Linked DNA regions of Homo sapiens: all the other regions are linked to region 1. The links are contacts of gene promoters, found by promoter capture Hi-C in blood cells and fetal thymus (Javierre and others, 2016). All regions are on one chromosome and are shown on one strand. The core of a region is centred on a gene start or on the middle of the fragment in contact, and the rest is flanking DNA. Distances in the headings are between cores, read along the strand shown. Region 1 holds the start of ZAP70 (zeta chain of T cell receptor associated protein kinase 70). Region 2 overlaps INPP4A (inositol polyphosphate-4-phosphatase type I A). Region 3 overlaps INPP4A (inositol polyphosphate-4-phosphatase type I A). Region 4 overlaps INPP4A (inositol polyphosphate-4-phosphatase type I A). Region 5 overlaps INPP4A (inositol polyphosphate-4-phosphatase type I A). Region 6 has its middle 24 kb from the start of INPP4A. Region 7 has its middle 41 kb from the start of INPP4A.

What was found. Contacts are between HindIII fragments. The CHiCAGO score rates a contact against its expected background, and 5 or more counts as called.
Region 2: a contact is called between a fragment that was not itself captured here and the fragment with the promoter of ZAP70 in region 1, in 1 of 17 cell types (M1 macrophages). The highest score is 5.4, in M1 macrophages.
Region 3: a fragment that was not itself captured here is called in contact with the fragment with the promoter of ZAP70 in region 1 in 1 of 17 cell types (M0 macrophages); the score reaches 5.3 in M0 macrophages.
Region 4: a contact is called between a fragment that was not itself captured here and the fragment with the promoter of ZAP70 in region 1, in 1 of 17 cell types (M2 macrophages). The highest score is 5.5, in M2 macrophages.
Region 5: a fragment that was not itself captured here is called in contact with the fragment with the promoter of ZAP70 in region 1 in 1 of 17 cell types (activated CD4 T cells); the score reaches 5.0 in activated CD4 T cells.
Region 6: a contact is called between a fragment that was not itself captured here and the fragment with the promoter of ZAP70 in region 1, in 1 of 17 cell types (M1 macrophages). The highest score is 5.7, in M1 macrophages.
Region 7: a fragment that was not itself captured here is called in contact with the fragment with the promoter of ZAP70 in region 1 in 8 of 17 cell types (M0 macrophages, M1 macrophages, M2 macrophages and 5 more); the score reaches 12.1 in M0 macrophages.

The regions. Positions count from the first base shown.
Region 1 is chr2:97,711,531-97,715,266 of GRCh38, reverse strand. ZAP70 (zeta chain of T cell receptor associated protein kinase 70) reads right to left here and starts at 1,691. Exons shown (of 14, transcript NM_001079.4): 1 at 1,593-1,691; 2 at 1,273-1,351. RefSeq lists an enhancer at 910-1,883. The HindIII fragment of the contact is 8,251 bases long and covers 1-2,732 here.
Region 2 is chr2:98,588,079-98,591,814 of GRCh38, reverse strand. It overlaps INPP4A (inositol polyphosphate-4-phosphatase type I A), which reads right to left. Exons shown (of 25, transcript NM_001134225.2): 25 at 1-3,736. Among named protein-coding and RNA genes, the nearest start is that of COA5, 19 kb to the left of the region's middle. The HindIII fragment of the contact is 317 bases long and covers 1,511-1,827 here.
Region 3 is chr2:98,564,741-98,568,380 of GRCh38, reverse strand. INPP4A (inositol polyphosphate-4-phosphatase type I A) reads right to left here. Exons shown (of 25, transcript NM_001134225.2): 19 at 3,618-3,640; 20 at 2,615-2,741; 21 at 2,212-2,352. Among named protein-coding and RNA genes, the nearest start is that of COA5, 42 kb to the left of the region's middle. The HindIII fragment of the contact is 5,676 bases long and covers 1-3,640 here.
Region 4 is chr2:98,532,852-98,536,587 of GRCh38, reverse strand. INPP4A (inositol polyphosphate-4-phosphatase type I A) reads right to left here. Exons shown (of 25, transcript NM_001134225.2): 5 at 3,093-3,211; 6 at 743-859; 7 at 380-459. Among named protein-coding and RNA genes, the nearest start is that of COA5, 74 kb to the left of the region's middle. The HindIII fragment of the contact is 2,156 bases long and covers 597-2,752 here.
Region 5 is chr2:98,502,680-98,506,415 of GRCh38, reverse strand. All of the region lies in intron 1 of INPP4A (inositol polyphosphate-4-phosphatase type I A), which reads right to left. Among named protein-coding and RNA genes, the nearest start is that of INPP4A, 60 kb to the right of the region's middle. The HindIII fragment of the contact is 1,667 bases long and covers 1,237-2,903 here.
Region 6 is chr2:98,419,319-98,423,054 of GRCh38, reverse strand. No RefSeq gene overlaps it. Among named protein-coding and RNA genes, the nearest start is that of INPP4A, 24 kb to the left of the region's middle. The HindIII fragment of the contact is 312 bases long and covers 1,733-2,044 here.
Region 7 is chr2:98,401,825-98,405,560 of GRCh38, reverse strand. No RefSeq gene overlaps it. Among named protein-coding and RNA genes, the nearest start is that of INPP4A, 41 kb to the left of the region's middle. The HindIII fragment of the contact is 4,305 bases long and covers 1-3,736 here.

The DNA of each region.
Region 1 (3,736 bases), core at 442-2,941:
GCACTATCAACTGTCCCAGGGAGACGGGAGGAGGTAAAATTGGCTCTGATGAGAATGGCTGCCTTAACCCTGTACCTTGGGGTGGGGCAGGGAGTGGTCAGCACGGGGTGGTCTGGGTGCTGCAGCCCCGGAGAGCATACAGGAACTGTGGAGTCCAGAGCCCGAGGCCACCCAGAGCTAGTGAGGATAATGAGGGTTTTAGTGAGACCTTTCTGCAGCACCTGTATGTGCCGGGCAGTGTGGATACAGTCACTCTCTTTATCCTCCCGAGAGCCCTGGGAGGGAAGCACAGAGAGATGCGGTGACTGGTCCAGTCACACAGCTGGTGAGTGGCAGAGCCAGAATGTGAAGCCAGGCCCCCAGGCTCCAGAGTGTGCACATCAACACCACCCCCGCAACACTGCCAGGGCAGTGGGGCTGAGGATGGAGGGCAGGTGTGAAGAGGAAAAGGAAGCTCTGGATTCAGCAGGAGGCAGCTTCACAGGTGGCACCTTAGGAGTCCCTGACCCTGATCTCTCAGCAAGGCATTATTAAACACCTCCTGTCTGCCTACTGTTCCAACCAAGACGAGAGTAATGAATCATCTCGAGCTGCTCACCTCATGAACTCCTGTTCCTTCCTGTCGGGGATGCTTCCTACCTGGGACACATTTCCCAGCCTCTCGCCAACAGTCAGGAACCAGGCGCCTGCCAGGTGCCCATATCTGCATGTGCATTTAACAGATGCACAAACTGAGGTCAGAGAGGCCAAGCAACTTGCCGAGAACACACAGCAGTTGAGGAGAACTCGGTGTTTTGCTCTTTCTCTCTCCAGGTCTTCCTCTAACCTGAGCTCGCCTACAAGTGGCTCAAGCCTGCCCTGGACTCCTCACAGGAATCACAGCATTCTGCTGATGGAGCTCACGGCCCTGGTGAGCAGCCCCCTCATCTTCACAGAGTGCACATGCGCTTTCTCTGGAGGTTTCTCTGCCTCCGAGAGCCAAGGATGCAGCCAAACAGGGCCCAGCAGGAGCCCAGGGACTGAGCAGGCCTCACCGTGTCCCCTGAACAGCCCCGCTCGGCCAAGCCTCTGGAGGGGGAGCTGCTTCCCTCAGCGTGGCCACAAGCCCCGTCTGCCTCCATCTCCAGCCAGTCACCACCCAGCCCAGTCCTCCAGCTCTCCTGGTCCTCCCAGCAACCTCCTGACTCCCAGTTAATATTCTGTCTTCCTCCTCCAGACACAGCCCACCATGGAGACGGTGGCCAGGTGCCACTCCACCCAGGCACCACTTACCTGGGGACGTACAGGTGGATGTCCAGGCAAACAGGCCACTTGCGGGGTCTCTGGTCCCAATGCCAATGGAGAGCCGGTTCTGGGTGAGGAATCGGGGCTTACAAAGCCGGTTTGGATTTCCCTGCAGCCCAAGCCCCCAGCCTGAGAGGGAGGCCCTGCCGCTCACACTCTCCGCACACACCCCGGGGGAGGATGTCACACCCCGCCAGGGTTTCTCACTCATGGATGGGGGGGGTTCATCCTCTGCCAGGTCTCCCAGAGCCCCCTGGGGTGGCCCTGGTGGCAGGACACAGGCAGAAGGCCCGAGGACAGCCGCTTACCTGAATGCCCCAGCAGCAGCTCTGAGGCCCACGGTGGGCCAGGCCTGCCCGGAAGGCCTGGTGTCTGCTGAGCTCCGGCAAGCAGGCTTGTCTGAAACTAACCTATTTCCTGGATGCGAAGACAGGAAAGGGGGCTGTGTTTGATGTTTACATCAAAGTCACAAAGTGCTGTGCTCAAGGAAAATCACAGGCCACGTGCTCCAGGGAGGCAGAGGGCATTTCCGGGGCCCAGCACTGCCTGCCCAGCTGCAGGATGGGACTGAGAGATGGGAATGAGGCTAAGCAAAGGCAGGGTTTCAGGAAGGACGACTCCAGCAGCAGGAACCGTCAGAAGGGAGGAAGCCTGCATACCTGGAACCGGAGGGTAGGCAGCAGTGGTGGGAAGGAGGGGAGTCCCAGGGCTCATGGAAACTGGAATGCCCCCATTTTCCCCTCAAAGGGGCGTCGCCCTGGGGCCTGCACCAGCTAGACAACCCAGAGGAGTGATTTGTTTATTCCACAGGCAGGTTAGAGCTGGAGGGAGGAGAAACCCACTGAGTCAGCCCATACCCCGAAGGTGAGAACCCCTTCTGTGCCAGGCATCTGGATGGCAAGGACAGCCTGCCCTTGCTCTCCAGTGGCTCGCAGGCTTGTTGGGGGCAGCTGAGTCCACAGGGAGCCAGGGCTGGGAGGCCGGAAGCCTGGGCACTGTGTGTCCCCAGAGTATCCCCAAGCCAGCCTGGAGGATGTCAGGGATGCGTTCCAGGAGGAGTCAGCCACCCAACCGAGACACAGAGCCAGGGCATCCCCAGTGCTAGCCCGGCCCACCTGGGACCTTTCCCACGAAGCTGAACCTGGCTGAGTGCCATCCCGCTGTGGCCACCACCTCCTCCTCCTCTTCCTCTCCTCCCTTCCCTCACCCTGTGCACCCCCTACCCTTGGGCCTGGGGCCACACCTCATGCACTCTCTCAGAGAGGGGCCTGCAGAGCCACTCCCTCGGCTCCATCTCCCCTCTAGTGCCCCAAGGCCTCTGGGAGCCCCTTGCCCACCACCTCCTTGCTTTCTTGGGCACTAAGGGAGTCGTCACAGCTCTCCTGTCTGTGGGGCCTCAGAGACCTGTGTGGAACTGCCCTGGGCCCACTGTGGAGACTCCTAAAGCTTTTCTTCTTGGGGTCCTGCTGCCCTTGTTAAGTGGGCTTGTGATACCCTACCTTGTTTTAACCTGAATTGACTCTCCCTTAGCTAAGAGAGCCAGACAGACTCCATCTTGGCTCTTTCATTTGCAGCCCCTTACCCACCCCGCTTCCTCAAGGACTTAATTTGTGCAAGCTGACTCCCAGCACATCCAAGAATGCAATTAACTGATAAGATACTGTGGCAAGCTATATCCGCAGTTCCCAGGAATTCGCCCGGTTAATAGCACCCAGAGCCCCGGCGTTTGTGTCCGGTTGATAACGCCCAAAGCCCCGTGTCTATCACCTTGTGATAGATTTTAAGCCCCTGCACCTGGAACTGTTTGCTTTCCCGTAACCATTTATCCTTTTAACTTTTTGCCTGCTTTACTTCTGTAAGATTGTTTTAGACCCCCACCTGTCCTTTCTAAACCAAAGTATAAAAGAAAATCAAGCCCCTTCTTTGGGGCTGAGAGAATTTTGAGCACTAGCTGTCTCTCAGTCGCCAGCTAATAAAGGACCCCTGAATTCGTCTCAAAGTGCGGCGTTTCTCTGTAACTCGCTCGGTTACAACAGGCTCAGCTCCCCAGTCTGCCTGAGGATCCCCTCACACCCTACCCCGAAGCCTCCTTGGGGACCTCCTTTCTGGCCCTCTACTATCCTCTGGCCGCCTGAATCCCCTTTAGAAAATCTGAGTTCCGGCTCTAGGCTACTTTTCTCCTTCATACAGCCCCCTCCAAAATGGTGTTTGCTAGCAGCCTCCCTTTTCCCCAGCGGCATCTTGAAACTCCAGGTGCAGCAAGCATCCCTTCACATCCATGCTGGACGCTCATTTCTTGGAGTATTGAGAGAAAAAGACACCGGCACCCTGAAGAGAGGAGAAATTACAGCATCAAATCACATTCATACTACAATAATGAGAGTCGCACTGATTATGTGCCAGACATTGCTGTACGCACATCACAATTAATAAGCCATTCAACCTATTTTCC
Region 2 (3,736 bases), core at 420-2,919, 880 kb before region 1:
ATGCAGTAGAACAATGTACAATGAAGTAACCTCCCCACATGGCTAATCATTTCTGTTCTTGGAAAAATCACAAATCGGGAAGCTCCAACCTCCAGCTCCTCTTACCTTCCTCCAGCGCAAAGCCTCCCTGGGACAACTCCCCTAGATCTGGGCAGCCAGATTGTGCCAAGTCATCTACTAAGCAGAGACTCAACAGGAAACTGAAGCGCAGCACCAGAATGGCATGCGGAGGGAGGGCAGGAAGAAGCTCACGGTAGCTGATGTCTGGGCGTCCTGACATGTCTTCTTCTTGGCTTAACTTTAAAGAGAAGCAAAATTAGGCCTGACCTTGAGGGATTCCCTCTGACTTTACATACTGTAAGCACAACACAGGACTTACACCAAGATGATTCCAGATGGATTGATCTAAATGTAGGACTGAAACCATAAACATCCTAGAAATAAGAACAGGTAAATGCTGAAAAAATAATCCTGAGACATGAGAGTGAAGGTAGAAACTGTTAATAATATTAAACTGAGCATGGCCCATGCACCAAGCAAGGTGCCAGTGAGCACTTTAGTCCAGCCCCTCGTCGTGGGCACGCAGCCACACCACCATGCCCACAAGGACATGGCTGTCCCATATGTCCCACCTTCCATGGTGAAGCCAGGACTCCATTTCAGAACAAGCATCAAAATGAAAGACAGGTATATGTGACTACATAAACCATTTAAAATACTGTATAACTCCTACCACAGACCAAAAGACAGCTGACAAATAGGTTAAAAAGTGTGCAACATATGACAGGGGCTAATACATTGTATATTAAAAACAATCTATATGAAATAGATCAACATTCCAATGAAGTCACAAACATAGAAATATCATAAAGGTATAAAAGATGTTCAGTGTTCACAGTAATCAAGGAATCAGGACACTGAAACGAGGTGCACTGCTACCATCAATGAGAATAAAGGGAAAAGGCACATGTTATTTTTGGTGGTAGCTTAAATTTCTAGGAGTTTGGTAATACTAAAAACTCCAAGAGTTAAACATTTCAATCATCCTTTAATTGTACATTTCCAGTGAGAGGAATTTTTCCAAGGGAGATAACGGGTCGTGTGTGCCTAGAAGACGGCACAGTGGTGCAAGATGCAGTCCTGGTGACGATGAACAGGGTCAATATTAATACAAGTGGAACTGCATTTTGACAAGTCATACAACGAGGACTGGGTTACCCACAGAGATGATGTGATCCATGTTCACAGACGGGAAGGTAACAACAATGGCTACCATTTATGAACACGTACTTCTGAGGCGCGTCGCACGTTCCTTATGAGGAAGGTACTGTTGTTGTCCACACTTTGCACATGAGGAAACGGAGGCTTGGAGAGGTCAAGCAACTTGCTCAGAGTCACCAGCCAGTCAGGGGCAGAACCAGGATTGGGACCTGGTCTGTGTGCTCCCAAAGTCCGTGCTCTTAACCTCAACGCTGTTGCCCCTCTGCTTCAAATTAGGCAGAAACAAGCTTATAAAATGGAAGTCTCCCATGGTCCCATGTTTACAAACATGTATTCAGCACCCGAGCACTCAATGCAATGCCCAAGAACAATGGTCCAGTCACAGGCTGGTCACATAGAACTAGTCCTCCTAATAGGATGAATCAGGCAAGACCACATTTAATATCTTGTCAGTTATTTATTATGTGTCATTCTAAAGACTAGCACATTTACAGCATACATGGCTTTGAATGACCTAAGAATATATAAAACAGTAACTGTATGTTTATATATATATAGTAATACTGCCCAAAACAAATAAATAAAGGTATCATAATGCACTAAGCTTGGCAAATACAATTGTGTAGGGACAAAACTGTATTATACAATATTTTTACATCTTTAAAGGAAACTAAAGGCAACTGTGCTCTGTAGGAGCTCTGACAGAATCCACATTACATTCCCAGTTTTCCATAGATCTCTTTTCTTTTTAAATGGGGAGGCATCATAAGGAACACTGGACGGAACCTCTGTTTTACGGTAACCTGTAAAACTGCCTTCCCTGCACCTCTGAAAACCCAAAGCTCCTACAGAAGAGAGGAGCTGCTTGCCTCTGTGCCACACACCCTCACCCTGCAGGCACTGGAAGCGTGTGATGCTGCCGGAAGCCCAGGAATGATGCCTTCAGAGAGAATACTGAAACCTGAACCTTTTCTATAGCATTTGCCAAGTCTTACAGTTTTATGGTGACCCATTACATAGAGCAAAAATTGGGAAAATAATTCATATAAAGGTGTCACATGCAAAACTGCTGACAGATGATCAACATTTGCTATATTCCCTTTGATGAGTGCAGATATTTAATGCTCTCCAGACAAAAAAGATCTGAAAACTATGTGGGTAATATTTATTTTTAAAAAGCAAGGAGATTTTTTAAAAGTTAAAATGAGAAAAGACAGAACTAAAAATTTACAAATTAAATGAGATGGTGGAGAGGTGAAAGGGTAAATCAGCCATATTGAAAACAAACTGTCTGTGAACAGAAATTGACACTTAAAAAGGAGAATCTGATACCAGCAGCAGCCACCTGTGCAGTGGGTTTGGCGGGCAGGAGCTTCTCTGCTTCCTGCCTGCCACAGTGAACTCAGCTTTGAGGGAGCAGCAGAGAGCTTCGTCCTTCATTAAAGTGTCCTTCACAGACATTTTCCTCCCTGCAGGCATCGGGAGACAGCAGGCGCTGCTTGCATGCTGACTTCTGAGTAGGAGGGGGTCTGGAAGGTCATCCAGTTCCACCCTACCTGATGCCCACCCCCTCTGTGTTCCTGCCAATAAGCAGTCCTCCCCATGCCTCAGCACCCCTGGCCCAAGTTTGTTACATGTTTCTAAAGGAACCAGAAGAATCTCTAGGCTTTTAGACAAAAGAATTTCTAAGAGGTTCACAAATCATTAGGATCAGCATCATTAATATGTGCCATATGTATTTCTTTTACAACCTTTTCAAGAACATGTAAACATCGTAAACAGAATCAATAAAACATATAAACTCCTAAGAAACAAACTCTGCTATGTGCAGATAAGACTCATCATCATCTTATAAAAGATGACCAGACAAAATTTTCTATGAAATTCCTAAGTTTTATGGCCCATAAATCCCTTTCAAAATCTCATTTGAGGAGAATAAATTTCAACTGTTTCTCAATAGTCATCTTACATAAGAATGAGAATAAGAAAGTAACAATTATTGCAAACCTAAAAATAAGACACTTTCATCAGACATTCAAACATGATTGTACTGTCTTTTCAAAGATAAATTGGAAATCCTGCAAAAAAAATTTTTTTTCTGAAAATATTTAGGTTTCTACTATCTCTATGGTCATAAATTCCCCATGGGAGTGTTGACATGCCACATCTGAGGCCCTACATTAACATCTAGAGAAGAAGGGGAGATGTGTCCTCTGGGCGTGAGGGAGCCTCGGCAGGGAGCTTCAGAGAACAGGAGACAGGCTAAAGGGACCTTACTGCTGGCTTTGTGTCTCCAGCAGACTCCCTGTTCTGTAACTCATAAGGGACAGAAAAAAGAGTGGCCCCAACTATGTGGGGTACCTTGCAGGTGTTACCTTCTAATAAAGTCTTATCTCCCGTTGATTTATCAATCTTTCTTTCAACTTCTTCAGGTGGTAGTGTAGATAGGATAATTCACTAGAACCCGTTATTCTCACTGCATGAGATAGTGCTAGCTTCTTTCCCCAAATAACAT
Region 3 (3,640 bases), core at 1,141-3,640, 850 kb before region 1:
ATTGGCAGGAATCATGTATCACTGTTACAGGCGTGCCTGAGAGATGACCAGAACATGATGTGGTACAGATCCTGTGCAGCACAGGATCCCCCCTCACAGCCATTTGGCTCAGAGTCCCTGGTCTCCTCCCATCTGAGGCACTTAGGAGGGGGGACGGCAGTGAGGTATGGCTGAGAGGTGAGGATGCAGCCCTGTACTCCAATCTGAAGTCACTCTCTGTGTGCAGAATGAACACACCTGACTGCCAGCCCCTCCGGGACTGACATGAAGCCCTTGCCCTTTCGTCATCGTGCAGGTTCACCCTGATCACACTCAGTGTGCTACAAGGAGCATGTGCCAAATGCCTAAGAAACAAAGCCATAAAATGCCACCTGCAAGGAAGGCACAAGGTGATCATTAGGAAATGCAGGCTCTGAAGTCCAGGTCCTGGGCCCCAGTGCAGTCTCACACATCCCTGCTGAGGGGCCTTCCGAGCATCAGCTTCTCTGTGGCCCGAGAGCATCCCTCAGAGGGCAGGATTCCCTCCTACGGGTCCCAGCCCATCCACCCCTGGTGTCCACAATGGCCTTTTCTCTAGACGCCTGCTCCCTTGGGGGCCATCCCTGACTCTGGGCCTGTGGCCTCCCCTCTGAGGGCTCTTCCCTCAGCTTATAAACAAGCCCAGCTCACCAGTGACCTCAGGGCCAATAAAGAAACAAAGTCAAGAACCTGCCCTTTGCAAGTCCTCTCTGTCCTCAGTGTTGCATCCTCCACCCTCCCCTCTATTCAATGCACCTGGCTCTGGCTCAGCCCTCTCTAGAAACTGCTCCTGCAAGTCTGTGGGATCCGCAGCTACTGGATGCAGGCACCATCATTTTCCCTCCCCTGGGCCACCTCCCTGCTGGGGCTCCAGTGAGGCTGCGCCTCTCCCTGACATAGGCGCCTCCAGCTCTGCTCACACCTTTGGGGCTTTGCTTCCTGGGCTGGTGCCCTCAGTCCAAACCCAGCTCACCACCTGCCTCTGGACACGACTCTCCTGCCAGTTTATGAGCTCAGTGGGTGGGTCTGTCTGGTGTACTCTCCTCCCACTCAGCCCCAGCCCCAACCCCACTGAAGACCAAACCCTTCCACTGACCACTTTAACAGTTCCCCAGCCTACCCCTCTGCAGAACACCAACACTCCCCTGGCCCTGATCCAGGTTCCCACCTCTGGCCTGGACTCCTCCCAGCAGCCTCCTCCTCACACTTGTCCCCTTCATCTCCTCCCGGCACGTGCCAGCGAAACGACCTACTTTAAATGTAAATCTGATTGTGTCCTGCCCCACTGAGAGTTCTTCAGTGTCTCCCAGCAATGATACCATATTTCCTAAGTTGGTGTGACCCTACACCTAGGCGTCAATGGACATCAACCACTGGGGTTGGACATCAGAAGGCCCAGCAGGAACACGGCATATTGTTCTGGAAACCAAATTTCCTTCACAGCAAGTACTTGAAGATCTCTGTTTAGACTATTCTACACATATCACATGAAGATAAATGACAACACAGGAATCATTCTCATGTACTAGTGGAAGGCCAGTAAAGGGTACATATACCCAATCTACCCTATCTCCTCACACACATGTGCGCACACAGGCACACGTGCACACACAGGCACACACAACTCCCCTCTGCAGTGTGGCAAGTGACCCTGGAGGGCAGTTGCCTTTAGGTTCAGGCATGAGTCTCAGCCTGGCACACAGAGCCTGTCTACCCTTACCTGCCAATCCCTGCCTGGAACCTGGTGCCCCTGAACTCCATGCTGTTTCTCCTCGCCAGGCCTTTCTTCAGTCTTCTTAATCTGACATGTCTCCCCTCCACCTCATCATCCAACTCCTATTCACAATTCAAAGCCCCATCCCCTGCAACTCCAAGAAGCCTTTACAGACCCCCTAGACCTTGCTGGGTGCCCTACTCCGGATCCCACAATGCCCTGTATCTGTCTTCATCATTGCATCCATGTCTCTCTCTCTCCCACCAGCTGAGTCCCTGAGGACAGAGACCACCTCTGGGTCACTCTGTGTCCCTAGCACCAAAGACAGTGAGGTGCACGGCCATGATGAAAATGTTGGCCAAAGGAAGGAAGGATGACAAAGTCTGTCCAGCACTTAGAGCCTGAAGAGGGGTAAGTACGTTTTCTGCATCATCTCCAGGGCCACCACACCCCCGCAGCCCCGAGGAGCCGGCACGCACCTCTCGGCCAGTGTCTGCTGCTCATTGATGCCCACGTTGAAGAGGACGGGCTGCACTCGCAGCAGCATGCCACTCTGGATCTCCCGGGGCAAGGCGTCAAACAGCGGGCCCGGCAGAGGGACCCGCACGTTAAACCCGTCGCTGGAGAAAGGTGGAGAGAGGGAGAGCAGTGTGAGGCCAGAGGGCCACCGAGCAGGCTGCAGTGCCCAGGCTGGCCCTCTGGCTTAGTGATGGCCAAACTGCCAACCACAGACCTTTAAGGGAGTGGCACTAACCTAGGGGGCTGTAATCAGAGCATTTAACAAAATGAAATAGGATAAAAAATTCAGAAGAGTACCTTCCCTGAGATAAACAAAAATGAAAACCGCTCTCTGGCTCAGAGAATTTTAAACCAACACTCTACCGATTTCCTGTGATGACGGGCAGCATGTCTGCGGAGGCGCTGGAAGTGGCCTGAGTGACTTTGAAGGTCACGTTCCTCAAGTCCATGATCCCAAGGCTCATGTCCTCCAGCATTGCCAGCTCCTCCCCTGGACATGAGAGAGGGGCAGGGCTGTCAGGCAGAGGGCCCTGCTACTCTCCCCAGTCTCAGCAGAAGGCAGCCAAGCCCAGGCCTGGCTGTGACAGGAGGGGTGCAGGTGTGGCTCTGGTGGAGGGGGAGTCTCTGAGCCTCTTCCCCTGCAACTCACTCCTCTGTGAGTCAACAATGCCTCTGAAATCCCACAGCCACATCAAAACATGCATCTGGTGGAAACACGCGCCATCCCTTCCCACTATTTCTTGGGCAAGCACCAGATAGTAGGGAGGGAAACAAATACATAAACTCAGAAAGCAAAGCCAGCTCTTGAAACACGAAATGAGAGATGCTAAAGCAGCTTTGCTGTGGCCAGACCCTCCCATTACACAGGGCTTGATATCTATTCGATGTCCTCAATTTCCAATGATTAACAAATGCTTTCTATCACCTTCTCAGAATAAATAAATAATAAACAAGGGTAGGAAGAAGAGAGCCTTTTTAGAGGGCAATTTGGAAATATCTATTAAATTTAAAAATATTCCTACCCTCTGACCCAGCAACTCTCCTTCCAGTCATTCAGTAGCTGCAGAAACAGGCCCACAAGTGCCTCATGCACAGATGTCACTGCTGCACTGGTGTTTCAGGAACAACCCAAAGTCCAACAGGAAGTTACTGGTTAAGTAATTAGCATCCATCCTCAACCAGCAACAACAACAAACCAAGGCGTGTGCGTGTGTAACTGCCAGGTCTGCCATCTGGTCTGCTGTTATATATTTTGGATTTATTTCAATAAGCACGCATTACTGGTATAGTGAGAAAAGTGCCTAGCAAGAAAGGATGGAAACCACACACGCAAGTGGGGCTCCCGATCCTGGCCCGGGCGCCTCACCGTAGGTGCTCAGCAGGCTCTCG
Region 4 (3,736 bases), core at 425-2,924, 820 kb before region 1:
AGCACCAGACACATTCTAGGTGTCTGGGAAATAGCAGTGAAGCAAAGCAGACAAAACTCCCTGCTCTATGGGAGATTATATTCCACTGGGGAGGGGCTAAATAATGGAGAAACACACTTAGTATTACTAGATATGTATCTAGGCCTTCCTTTAGGGCTTGGTACAGCTGTGCTCATATCTCCTATGGATGCTAAAAGTTTCCATTCTCTGATAGGCTAAGTAATTTGTTTCGCCTCAATAGACAACACAGTGTCCCCACGCTGACTGGCTTCTGGGAAGGGAAGGGTGCTCTCTCAGTATAAGAAGTGGGTCCTTTCCCCATCTGTCCCTGGACCTCATGATTCCAGATCCTTTCAAGGGAATAAAACTGAATACCAACCTTAGTGTTAAATGCAACCTATGATGCCTGTCCTGGAGCAGATCTTTGACAATGAACGTTCCAGAGCCCAGTAAATACATCTGAGGAAGAGAAGGAAGAGAGGCAGCATTGGTGCGCTTGCTTTGCTTCTGATGCAATTACCATGGCCCCAGAGAGTCCAGCTGACTGCTTCCCACAACACCTCTTACCCTTATGTCAGAAGCCCAATGGGAAAGCTTAACAATTCGCAAAGACAAATGCATTTAGACATGAGTTAACTTGTGAGCCAGTAGTGAAGTCAATCTGTGTTCATCTCTCATTCAAACGATTATATAATTTTTTCAAAGGGAAGAAAATCCCACGAACTACAACACATTACTTAACTGTTCCCTGAGATCTATCTTTGACATCATACACGGAGAGTTTGACTTGTGTCATCTGATTGATAAGAGAGTCTTGAAAGAAGGCAATACTGCTTAGAAATATAGGATTGTTGGTTCCCTAGAACAGAAAAGGAAATAATCAGAACACAGGGTTGGATTTTTAAAATGTAATTGCTTTTGAAATACACCAACATTTTCAGAATGAGAAACTAACATTCTCACTGCCTTGAATCAACACAAATGCTAAAGGCGGCTTAAATAAATACATAAAACAAACAAACAAAAAAACTCTGCTTTTTAAAAGAGAAAAAAGAAGTCTGACATAGACCATTACAGATCCACATACAATAAATCAGCCCATTACACAAGCTGTGCCTGAGGACTCATTTCATGGGTTTCACACTCAACAGGAGGAATTTTTAAAAACTGAAACAAGTTGGATGTCCACATGCATTCTTAGTTTTATAACTTAAAGTGTAATGTGTATGTAAACCTACTACTTTGAGTTATTCCTTTAAGAGGTACAAATAAGCAGATGAAAGAGAGAAAATGAATGGCTTAAGTGGTTTATTATGTATTTCTAGAAGCCTGTGTTTGGAATAATTAAAGCCTGACTTTTCAAAAGCTATCCTTTTTTTAGGATCAGCTACTAGTTTTTTGATCATAGGTGACTATTTCCTGGCAGCCTGGCCATGTCCTCCAAAGCCCCGTAATACCATACTCTCTCAGGCACCAGGTAATTATCACAGCCACCATTCCCTGGGCCTCTGGCTCCTTTTTCTCTCTGGAGATCCAGATCCAGGTGGTCAAGCTGACTGGACAGCTCCACCTGGGTGGGCTGCTGGGGCCTCAACCAACTCATCTCTCCCTCCACCTGCCCTTGGCTAAGGCCACCTCTGACTCCCTTTCCAAGCAGGCTAAAAGCCCGGGCATTCACTTTGGTGCCTTCTTCTCTGTTGTTCTCAACCATCCAGTGATCATGAACTCCCCTTGCAAGGTCCACCTTCAAAGTCTCTGTCATACGCTCCTTTCTTTCCACTCCCTCCAACTCTCACTCCCCCAAATGCCTGTCCTATACAAGTTAGGACATCTGGTCAGGTGACTCCCCTGCACAGAAGCCTACACTGGCTCACTACCATCTGCTGATAAACTCCACGGCCTTCAAGGCTTTCTTTCCTTGCTCTCCTACTTGTGCCTTTCACACACTGACCAGGATACAGTTAGACCCCAAACCTGCATGATCCTTCCCTGTGGTCACACATTTGCATAGCCACAACAGAACTTTGGCGTGCTCTTCATGTGGAGTCCCCCGACTGGCTACCTGGGCATCACTTGGGAGCTTGTAAGAAATGCAGTCTTGGGCCCTACCCCAGACATACTGAAGTAGAATTTCATGAAGCCCCACCCTAGGAAGCCTGCTCTGACTCTCACAGCCAGATAGGATCCCAGCCTCCTGGTGCTCTCCTTACCTTCCTACTCCAATACTTCCCATACTCTGCTGTGCACACGGGTAGCCATATTCATTTCTGCCTCCCCACCCACCAGCTGGTCAATTCCTCAGGGCAGGGACTGTGCCCTGGTGGGCTCTGTATCATCCACAGTGCCTGGCACTATGCTAGATGTGTAGGTAGCACTCGACAACTGCTTAGAAAGCAGAATTGTTGACGTGAACTTGGAAATAAGTTTCTAAGAGACTGAAAGGGTGGGCTAGCTTCCAAAATGCACAACTGGTGAAGAAGAAGAAATGCAGTTTAAGTTTGATAATTCTTCACTTTACAAATAAAACTCTGCAGAATCTCATGCCACCAACTCCTACACTTAGTGTTATGTAATGTGCTTGATGATCTAAAAGGATCATCCATAAATGTTTATCCACAAATGTTTATCATGTAACTTAGTGGGAAAAGTTAACATGTGACACAAAACTCAAAAGGCTGTAAAAACAAAAACCAACAAAAATAGGGGTATGTCTGGACAAGAGGGTGGTAAATAGTTAATACTCTTCTAAGCTTTGATTAATGAGCACCACTCTTGCAAAGTAGCAGCCAATTGGAGGTGACAAGAAGGAATTAGGTCTTACCTCTTACAAGGCAATGAAGCTTACAGGATCATTGTTCAAAAACAAGCTGCCAACAGTTAATCAATAACTGTAAAGGATATGGCAATATAAATGCCACCCAGATGAGTAAATGTGATGAAAAATATCAATGTACTGAAAACCCATGGGAAAATAGCAACAACTCACGTAAATACAGCTTCAGCTACAGATGCACAAGTAACTGAACATCAGGACAAGAGACACCACTAGAGCATGTCCCACAGCCCCTCAGAGAGAGACCACCAGCACCCACCTCAATGATCTCCGTCTGTGCATGCTTCGTCCAGAATGCCTGAGGAGGGGTGGTGACACTCACCGCAACAAAACTATTTGGCTTTCGATCTAGCGATGGAGTATGCAGCTCACTGCAAGCTACAGAATCAACACGGGAAAGAAATGAATCCTTTAAAACCAGACTCTGATTAGTTTTCTGTTCCAAACACATTCAAAGAAAGCACAAAGAGTAAATGACATTCAAAGAGATGAGACGATCACATCGTCAGTTGTCACAGGGAAGTGATTTTTTAAATTTGAAACAATCTCTTTTCACGCCCCCTCCCCGCCACCCTCCAAGACAGCAATGTCATAACTTCAGTGAAAGGCTGCGCTGACGGGGGCTTCCCATGTCCATGGAGTGGAACACAAAGCCAGAAATCTCATATAGGTCCAACCCTTCAAGTCCGACCTCGGTAACTATTCCAACTCTAACCAATTGAGTGAAGGAGCCACAGAGTCTACGAAATCTAAGACAGAGCTACCCATGCTTGCATCCTGTGACTGCTGTGGCTGACTCTGAGCATATGGTGCTCCACGTGTCTTGGCAGGTGGATGGATGGATGCTGGAAGAAAATTAGAATTCTATGGCAAAGTAAACAAAGCTCTTTTTTTTTTCTTAAG
Region 5 (3,736 bases), core at 821-3,320, 790 kb before region 1:
GAGAGACAGCTATTCTAGTTTGATGCCTGGGAGCCAGGCTCACAATGGTAGAGGGGCTCCCTCAAGGTCAGCAGCAGCAGCAGAAGTAGGACCTAAAGGCAGGCCTTACTAGTCCAGTGCTCTTTCCGATATGCAGAAGAGAGTGCAGAGCACATTAATTCGACTACTACCAAATGCTAATAAAAGGCATCATCTTTTTCAGTTGTAGAGTTCCTCATTATGTCCCGCCCTGTCCCCACCCATGTCTTCATAAGCATCTCCTGTGGTTACTCAGTCTCTGACTCCATCTCCAGCTTTTCCCATCAAGCAACACTAAATTCTAGTCAGGAAACAGGGCTTCCTAGAGAAGCAAAAGGCAGAACTTTAGGATGAGAGCAGATTCTTTTTTGTATCATTCATGTTTGATTTTCTTTTCTTAAATTAAGCTGAAATTAAACCCCTCGAAGAAATATTGTTATTGTTTCTGTCAAAAATAGTTAAAAAATAAAGTTTAAAAAACAAAAATTTGTGAACAGGATAAACAGACAAAACCTAGCCAACAATATCAACTAATAGCAAAGTGAAAAAGCAAGAATATTCTGTATTTCTAATGGTGGAGACAGGGATTCTATAAATATTGTACAGAAATAATATATTTCAACAGGAAAGTGGAAGGGGAAATGCACCCTCCTGCTGAATCAGCAAGACACAACTCAAGCCCAGGCGTCTGTGGTGACGGCTGGCTCTGTGAGCAGGGCTCCTCTGCTCTGCTTTTATGACTACTGTGTTTTATTTGTAACTTCCTTCTATTTACTATTACCAACAGGTTTTACTCAATCCTAATTTGGTAAGGGAAGAGTGTGCAAGCTGTTTTGAGAAACAGTCACCGCTGTCTCCAATTCTCTCTGGTGACATACACCTCACAGTTCAAGAATAAAGCATGTGTCCTCTCTCTCCTACAAAAGCTCCCACGTCCTCTCTTTCAGGTTCAACAAGGAAGCACTGCAGGGAAAGTGAACGAGCTCATCACTCTGGCTGGACACATAAAAAGTCAGGCCCCACATGGGAAACGCAAGCCTCCACCAAGGTCAGCCCACTCATGAGACACAACAGTCCCAAAGGCTCGCCCAGTACTTTTCCCCAAACCTAAAGGCAAAGTGCACCCTTGGAAGAAGAGGTGGGCATCCATGCCACCTCCTAGAGGGGTTGGGCAGATCCCAGCAGGAGGCTGCCTGAACCTTTTCTAAATGGGAAGCTTTGTGTTCTAGTTTATGCCAGGTCAGTGAGCAACCATTAAGCCAACTTTTGGTTTTGTTTACTAGAAAGCAAGTTATTAGTATAGTACTTTAATATTCAGGCAACTTTCAAAAGTCCATGCTAACAGAGCTTTGGGAAAACAAAGAAAAGACAGAGAGCCTAGAGTGAATCTGGTAAGATGGTCTCAGGCTTGCTCAATCACATGATGCAGAATGTCAAGGCCAGCCAAAGCTGTAGATCCCCCTTGCCATTGCCAGTCCTGCACCTTCAGCAGGATGGCACGTGGGCCTGAAGAGGCACTGAAGATTAACACCACACACATCATTTCCTTCTACAGCGCCACGTTAAGAGCAGAACTGATAATAAGTTGAAAGTTAATAATAACGTGCTTCAGACAAGTGGAGTCAGGCAGGCTCTGTTTATTTTTCTAAGCACTAGGAAAGCCTGCCTTCTAATTCGCAAGTGTCAAAATTGGCTTCACGAGAAAATAAAAAATTTTCTGAGTAGCAACAAAATTCCATAAAGGGCTATAAATGTGAAGCAACCATCACAGATCAATGAAATGCCGGGAAGACAATGCTATTTTAGAAACCAGGCAGTAAGCCAGGAGACTGGGGATGACCTGCCCAAGGCCTCCAAGTGGCAGCACCAACGTTACAATGCTGTTTCTAGCTTCCTCAACAACAAACTGAAATCAGGGAGAGACATCTTGGTCCTCTAGGTCCCATGGAAACACAAAGTGGTCACACATTCAGCAACTTTACTACATGTAGATCTCTGGCAAAGTGGTGTATAACCTGTTTATTTTAGCTGTGAAAATGGAATCCTGTTTGAAACATTCAGTGTTGGGGTGAACACTTAGCAGAGACACAAAAGGACTTCAGTCTTCCCTATTCTCATTAAAACAAATCAAAAGGGCAGCAAGCAGTCCTGATGTTTATATAGGACCTTCCTGGAGAGAGGGTTCTATGGCTTCAGCTACTCGGCTGTGTTGCTGGTTGTTCAGCGTTCCGTGTTTGGTGAGGGAGGACCCCCACTGGCAGTCCTCCATGGGCCTCTTCCACAGTGAACTGACCACAGCTCTTTATTGCAAAGCTGACAGTGGCTGGAATAATGAAACCTCAAAAAGAAATGCAGTTTTTAAAAGAGTGCAATAAGCTGTGCCTCTGAGGCCCATGCCCTTCCTTGGGCAGTGCTCTGTAGCTACCCACCAGAGCTGTGGTTGAGTAAGTTCAACCATGTAGGGACAAGTGCCAACTGACACGCAGCACCTTCATGCTCAACAGCAACATCTGCCTTCTTCTCATGTGGCACCTCTTCTCAACCAGCAGCAAAGATCAGGCTAATAGGGAAGGGACCAGGGCAGAAGACAGGAGCCCTGCCTGCAGGAGAAGGAGTCTCTGTCATCCTGTCACGCAAGCCTGGTTTGATGACCTGAAATGCCTTCTGATGAGAGTGTCCAAAGGAGTCTGTAATCTGGAACTGTCCATTCATCTGTTCAACAAGTACTGAGCTAGGCACTTACAGTGAACACACAAGTGAATCAGAAGTGATCTCTGCCTGCAAGAATCCAACAGTTTAATGATGGAGTAAAACATTCAGATAACACAACTCCAAGACAAAATGAGATGCATGCCCCATGCTGCTACAGAGGCAAGGAAGAAGCTTGAAATCTGGCAAAAGATGATCCAGATGAGGTGCGAGTTGATCTGACTTCAAAAGGAACAGGCACAGGTGCATCCAGCAACAAGCACTCACTCAGGAAACAGGAAAGTCTTGTGTATCAAGGACAGAGAATGGGGCTGGAGAGCCAGGACGAGGTCAATTCTGGAGATCCTTTAACACCAGACCACAGAGCTGGGTTTTAGCTTGCAGGCAGTGAAGAACTCCCTAGGATCTCAATTGTTCAAACCAATCTCAAAAGTCCTGGTACTCTCTTGGACTCTCCTACTGGGCTTTTGAAGACAAATCTCTTTCTCACTTGGGGCAAACCAGGGAGGAACCTGCCCACAAGAATTGCAATGAGCATCCCTTCTCACCAGCAAAGACAGACCCCTGCTCAGACCTGGCAAAGCTGGGTCAAGATGGCACCCACCACCACATGAACAGGCAACATTCACGACCAACACATAAAGGGCAACTCGTTTGTCCCAGGAGGTCTCCAGGGGTTCTAAAGGTCCATTTGTCATCAGCACAACTAAACCTAGTCCGTCCAAACTCCCTATCTCTGAAGGAAGCACTGATTCTGCAAATATAAAATAAAATCCAATAACTCAAAAACAACAAAAGAAACTAAAACCACTTGGGTAATTCAAGAGGGCAAGCAATTTCAGGTCTATTAATAAAACCCTTAGAGCAGGGCCATCTTTTGCCTTTGAGCTAGGTCTCCTTGGTGACCTCACCCATAAACAATGCAGTAGTGAGACTGCTCACAAAAGTCACAAGAACTATTTTCCCTTTGTTCCAGAAAGATTCCTAATCTGGTTGTGGTGCTGTTTCC
Region 6 (3,736 bases), core at 639-3,138, 710 kb before region 1:
CCAGGCTGGAATGCAGTGGTGCAATCTTGGCTCACTGCAATCTCTGTCTCCTGGGCCCAAGCGATTCTCCTGCCTCAGCTTCCTGAGTAGCTGAGATTATAGACATGCACCACCATGTCCGGCTAATTTTTTGTATTTTTTGTAGAGATGGGGTTTCACTGTGTTGGCCAGGCTGGTCTAGAACTCCTGACCTCAGATGATCCACCTACCTCAGCCTCCCAAAGTGCTGGGATTACAGATGTGAGCCACTGCATCTGGCTATTTCACCTTTATTTTTGAAAGATAGTTTTTCTGGATATGAGTCTTGGCTGTTTGGTGGGGGGGCACTTTGAATATGCTATCCCATAGCCTCCTGTCCTCCATAATTTATTATAAGAAATCAGATGTCATTCTTATTAGGGTTTCTTTGTATGTGACAAGTCATTTTCTCTTGCCACTTTCAAAATTTTCCTTTTGTCTTTCATTTTCAGCATTTTTACTGTGATGCATTTGTACATGGGGATCTCTTTGCATTTATTCTACTTAGAGTTGGTTGATCTTGGATGGGTAGAATTTTTCTGCTCCTTTCTCTCCTCTCCTTCTGTTACTCCAATTAAGTGTATGTTGATATGTTTAATGGTGTTCCACATTTCTTAAAGATTGTGTTTCTTTTTCTTCATTCTTTATTCTCTGTTTTGGATTTCATACTCTCTATTGACCTATCTTCAATTATGCTGTTCTTTTCTTCTGCCAATTCACATCTATAGTTGAGCCCTTTTAGTGATTTTTTTCATGTCAATTACTGTACTTTTTAATGCCAGAATTTTAATTTTTTTAAAATAAAGTCTCTTTATTGATATTGTCCGCTTGATGAAACATTGTCATAATCCTTTTTTTACTTCTTTAAGCCTGGTTTGCTTTAGTTCTTTGAACACATTTGTAATGATAGACTTAAAGTCTTTGTCTGTTCAATTCAATCTGGGCCCTCTCCTAGGCAGTTTCCATTGCCTGTTTTTTTCCCCATGTGTGTGTCACACTTTGTTTCTGTGGGTATAGGTTTCATGCGCGTCCGTGTGAAGAGACCACCATACAGGCTTTGTGTGAGCAACATGGCTGTTTATTTCACCTGGGTGCAGGCGGGCTGAGTCCCAAAAGAGAGACAGCGAAGGGAGATAGGGGTGGGGCCGTTTTATAGGATTTGGGTAGGTAAAGGAAAATTACAGTCAAAGGGGGGTTGTTCTCTGGCAGGCAGAGTGGGGGTCACAAGGTACTCAGTGGGGGAGCTTTTGAGCCAGGATGAGCCAGGAGAAGGAATTTCACAAGACAATGTCATCAGGTAAGGCAGGAACAGGCCATTTTCACTTCTTTTGTGGTGGAATGTCATCAGTTAAGGCAGGAACCGGAGATCTGGATGTGTACGTGCAGGTCACAGGGGATATAATGGCTTAGCTTGGGCTCAGAGGCCTGACAATAGGAACTGAAAGAAACAATTGTTTATGATACAGAACATTCTACAGAGCCCTGTTATTTATATCAAAACCTGATGCTTGGAAACTTTTGGTTTTATTTTAAGTCATCCTTCATCAGGATTATGTGAAGAAAATGGATTTTAATCACATTTCTCTCCTTCGATAGTGGCTGTCTTCTTTGATTGCTTTTCTTTTTGCTAGTACTATTGGTTGAGTCTGGAACTGCCTCATCTTGGAACTCCTCACTTTGGGCGGTTGACGCTCACTCTGCTCAAGGAGAAGCTTCCTAGATGTGAGTTTCCTCTAATCCCTCTTTCTTTGCCTGTTCTTATAGTATTGCTTCTGAAATGTGTTTACTCCGTGGCACACAGATCATATATATTTGTCTAGCATCCTAGGGTAAATGAAAAAATCCACTTGTAGCTTGAGGTGCCCTGCTTGGGGATTCTGACCCAAGTGTCTCCAGTACACCAGATGATAAGTTCTACTCTGGGCCAAGATAAAGTTTTAGGTGTAGGGGAGAGGGACAAGGAAATTACTCAGTCCACTTTTGGTGTAAGCCTTCAGCCAGATATCTAGAATACATGAGTTAAGCTTACAAACACCCAGATTCACTCCCTACCCTTCAGAGGCCAACTCCTGAAAACTATATCACCTAGGCTTCTTTGTCAACTGTCTTCTGGCTGGATTTAGCCAATGGGATGCATTAATGGGAGACTGTGGAGCAGAAGGAAGGGAAAGGCAGCTGTCTCCCTCTGGCCTCCCCCTTGGGTGTCATTCTCGTGTTATTGGAAATGGCTCCATCTCCTTGGTCAGTCCAGCTCCCTCTCTGCAGTCTCTGTTGTGATTCCAGCTCCTGTCAGACATCTCTGACCCCTGGGTTTTATTAATCCCATCACCTCCTTGCATCCCTTGAGCTTTTGGGCATGCTGCATTTGCTAATATCTGTGTTGCTTTATGATTCTTTGTTTGGATTTTCAGCAACTCTATCAAATAATTAGTTCCCCATTAATTTCACTGTATCGAATATCTGATGTGGGCTGTTTTCCTGACTGCACTCTGACTCAGACAGCACACTAACAGCGTGTACATGGCCTTACAAATATCCCCAGCTGGTAAAAAAGGATATTCATTGGATTGACCTTATTCCCTGTGGACAGATCTTTGTCATAAACCTGTGGCAGCAGGAGGCAGCTAGTACAGAATTTGGGAGCCTGAGTCCTGGTCAAGCATTATTTACCTGGCCAATAATGGGGAAGAACAGAGATTTGGAAGAACAGAACATATCTGCCTGGCAACCCCCAGCCATCCTTTAAAATCCAAATGTCTTCACTCTTGGTCACTGGCCTTTTTTCCTCCCACTTCCTTCAGGCTGAATCAGTTCCTTCCTCATCTGTATTCCCAAAACAGTTTTCATAAGTATACTGTAGCGCTTTTTTGCTTTGGAGTCACGTGTGGACCTATTTCCCCTATTAGTTTGCTGAGGGCAGAAACCTGGTCTCAGTCAGCTCTGTACTTTCAGTGCCTTGCTCAGAGTTCGATGCCTGACACATAGAAGGCAACGACACAGTTTCACTGAATTCAGTGTTTCCCTAACCTGGCTGCATATTGGGATCACTTAGAAATATTTTTAACATGTTGGTTGTCCAGTCTTCACCCCAGGCTAATTAAATCAGCATCTCTGAAGACGGGGTCCTAAGCACTGGAATTTTTAAATGACTCCCTGGGTGAATTTTTGTGATTCTGGGATTATGAGCTGGTGGTTTAGCTGATTGCTTTACCTTAGCACACTTCTTCTTGCTGATGAGTCCTGGCATAAAGCCCAAATTCCTCTACAATTTAATTCAATTAAGTAAATATGTTTGAGTGCCCACTCTGTGCCAGCCCCTGTGCAAACAGACGCTTGCTACTTAAAGTGTGCTCTGTGAACCAGCAGCATCAGCATCACCAGGGAACCTAGAAATATGGAATGTCAGGCCCAGGCCTACTGAGTCAGAATCTGCATTTAACATGATCCCCAAATGATCTGCATGCACATTAAGGTCTAAGAAACAGTGCTGTAGATATCATGCAAATGTCCAGTTCCTTGCACACTGTGAATTTTCTTTTCTTTCTCAATCACTCTGCTTTACTTACTACCCTTAAAAAGGCGTCATATTATATTCTCTTCTCCAGCTAAAATGGACTGTCCCGTGTGAAGCAGGCTGAGATTAGGGAGGGATGAAATGAGATAGTGGATACAGGATTCCTTGGGTGTGGAGGGAAGAGGGAAGGTGTGGTTGGCCGTT
Region 7 (3,736 bases), core at 698-3,197, 690 kb before region 1:
TTAAACAAACAGAGTCTCTCTCTTTCTCTTTTTGTCTCTGTGCTGAGCTGCCTGGGGCTGGGGAAAAGGTGACACAAGCACCCCTGTGGCCACCATCACTGAGACTGTGCTGGGTTAGACCTGAAGCCAGCACAGTACTTGGTCATGCCCAAGGCCTCCAGTGACCACTGCCCGGCTACCACCTATATTCACTCAAGGCCCAAGGGCTATACAATCAGCAGATGACAAATACAGGCAGGTTTGTGTCTTTCCCTTCAAGGCTATGAGTTCTTCCTAGCCCCAGGTGGGTCCGAGATGCCATCTGATAGCCAGGGCCTGGAGTCAGAAACCTTAGGAGTCTACCTGATGCTTTATTCTACTGTGGCTGAACTGGCACTCAAGCCACAAGATAAAGTCCTTCCCCTTCTTCCCTCCCTCTCTTCCCTCCCATTTCCTCAAGTAGAGGAGTCTGTCCTCATGGCCACCACTGCCTTAGGCCCATGGCAATTACTGCCTGCCTACTGCCTATGATGTTCACTCAAGGCCCAAGGGCTCTTCAGTCAGCCTGTGGGGAATGCTGTCTGTCCTGAGTCTCTCCCTTCAGGGCAGTAGGCTTCCCTCTGGCCCAGGGGAGGTCCAGAAATACTGTCCAGGAGCCAAGGGCTACGACTGGGTACTCAGGAGCTCACTTGGTGCTCCACCCACCTGTGGCCGAGCTAGTGCCCAAGGGGCAAGACAAAGTCCCCTTTACTCTTCCCTCTCCTTTCCTCAAACAGAAGGAGTCTCTCTCCATAGCCATCATAGCTGGGAATGTGCTGGGTCACACTTGAAGCCAGCACAGCTCTGAGTCTTGCCCAAGGCCCTTGGTGAGCACTGCCAGGCTACCACTACTTATTATTCAGGGCCCAGGGGCTCTTAGTCAGCAGGTGATTAATTCTGCCAGGACTGAATCTTTCTCTTCAAGACAGCAGGTTCCCTTTTGGCCCAGGGGTTATTTAGAATGTCATCTGGGAACTAGGGCTTGGAATGGGGGCCTCATGACTCTGCCTAGTGCCCTATTCTACTATGGCTGAGCTGGTATTCACATTGCAAGACAAAATCCTCTTTACTCTCATGTCTCCTCTCCTCAAGAAGAGAGAGAGGGTCTCTCCTGGAGCTGCAAGCTGCACTGCATGGGGTTACAGGAGGAATGATGTGAGCACTCTCTTGGCTGCCTCCGCTGATACCTTACTAGGTTGCATGCACTCCAAGTCCACTGGCTCCGAGTCCAGCACAGCACCAGGACTTGCCCAGGAATTGCAGTCCATGCAGCCTAGACTGCCTTCCAAGTTTACTTAGCACCCCAGAGCACTTTAGCCCACAGTGGCAGGGCTTGCTGGAACTCAAGTTCTGACTGCTGGGATGGACAATTTGCCTGGCTGGGGCTGGTCTAAACCCCTTCATGGGTGTCAGCTGGGTTCTGCCCTGAGTTGCTTTCTGCTATGACAGGGCAGCACTGAGCTCCAATGCAAAGTCCCACAATCACTGCACTCTCCCCACCACAAGCACACAGATTCTCTCTTCTTGCCATGCAGCTGCTGCTGAGGGATAGGGGAGGAGTGGTGTGGGCAACTCAAGACTGTCTTTCCTACCCTCTTCAGTGTCTCTTTCCTTAATATGATGTTAAAACCAGTACTGTGATTGCTTACTTGATTTTTGGTTCTTATGAAGGTGATTTTGTGTGTGGGTAGTTGTTCAATTTTGCATTCTTGTGTGTGTGTGTGGTGGGGCAACAATCACTGGAGGCTTCTATTTGGCTATCTAGCTCTGCCCCCTCCTCATCAACTTTGCAACTAGTTGTTTTGACATCCATTTTATATGATTGCCTAGATCCAATATTCTATGAGATATTTTTTAGTTGGAATTATTCTATAAAGACAGAAGTTTCCAGCTGGGAATGGTGCCTCATGCCTATAATCTCAGCACTTTGGGAGGCAGAGGTGGGAGTATTGCTTGATCCCAGAAGTTCAAGACCAGCCTGGGCAACATAGTGAGATCCTGACTCCACAGAAGGAAAGAAAAATAACTTTCCTTCCTCAATTGTTTAGGTTACTCTGAAATCTAGTTTTTGTATATGAAAGTCAGCATAACTGCTTGATTCTTTCCCTTTGACAATTTTTGGAATAAGCTGTAATGATGAACATTAAAAATATATTTGACTTAGTACATGCAATTGCAGTTATTTTTCTTTGTGGTGCTCAAATTCTCCCATCTTTGGCCAGTGGAAGTGCATTCAAATTGGATTCTATTTTCTACTGACATAATCTCAGTGTCTTTGATAATTCCCTTGCTTTCTGGCAAAACAAAATGTTTTGGGTTCATCTTGGTTCCTTTAAATGTAAAATTGTATTTAGAGACTACAACCTGGGTGCTATGGGCACTCATTGCTGCTGAGTTATTGTTCTGAGCTTTTTCAGTGAGCAGAGTACTTGGCCTTATGTCAATATTTTCCCGGTCTTTCTGGTCTTCTGAGGTTCTCCTCTTGTAGATTGCTCAGGAAGGGCTCATGAAAACAATACTCCTGAGTTTTTGCATGTTTATAACTGTTTATCTGCAGCCTTTCTACCTCAAGGCCAGTTTGGTTGGACATAAAATCTGTGGCTCATATTTTTTGTCTTTGAATATCATGCATGTGTTATTTCATTGTCTTCTAGCATGAAGTGCTATTTTATAAAAGTCTGAAGGCAATCTGATATTACCCCCTTGTAAGTGACTTTGTCTTTTTGCTTGAATGTCAAAAACGTTTTTTCTTTTCTTTTGCAGTCTATAAGTTTTACTGTTATATGTCTCAGTGCCAGTTTTCTGGCTCAATTTTCCCAGAATGCAGAATGTGTCTTCAATATCTAGTTCAAGCTAATTTTTATTTCAGGAACTTTTCTTAAATGATAAGTTTTAGTGTTGTGCTCTATTCCTGTGCTTTGGTACTTGTTTGGGATTCTTATTAACATGCTAGATCTTTGTTGTTTATTCTCCATCACTTTTCTCACAAATTCTTTTTATCTTTTTCATTTCTTTTTGATTAAAAAAAAGCATTTTGGGAGCAGTTTTAGGTTCACAGCAAAATTCCCATATACCTGCAACATACTTCATATTTTTGAAAGTGGTATCAAAGGTGCATTTGCTGTGACAGATGAACCTACACTGACAATTTTTCTCTTGAAGTCCATAGTTTACATTGGTGTCCACTCTTGGTGTTGAACATTCTGTGGGTTTTCACAAAGGTATAACAACATGTATTTACCACTACAGTATCATACAGAGTATTTTCAGTGCCCTGAAACTCTCTGCACTCCACCTGTTTATGCTTCTACTCCCCCAACCCCTGGCAAACACTAATTTTTTTTTTTTACTTTTGCCACAATTTTGTCCTTTCCCAAATGTCATATTCGGAATATCTTTTTTGATTTTTAAGACATTTTTCCTTTCCATCTTTGATTTCTCTTAAAACATTGCTTACTATGTTTATTTGCTCTTGTGTTCCTTTTAATTCAGTTTTTAAAATTTTTTTTGTTCTTTTATTTCTAGTACTTTTCTGAGTTCTGTTACAGCTCTTGTCAAATCTTCCTTTTCCTCAATCACCTCATCCTTGATTCTGGTTTATGCTGTTTTTTTTTTAATAGCATCTATCATTCTCTTAATTTCTCTTGGCTGGTTTTGAAATGATGAGTCAGTTTACATCCGTTCTGTGGGCATGTCTTTCTGGTGGGTTTCATTATCT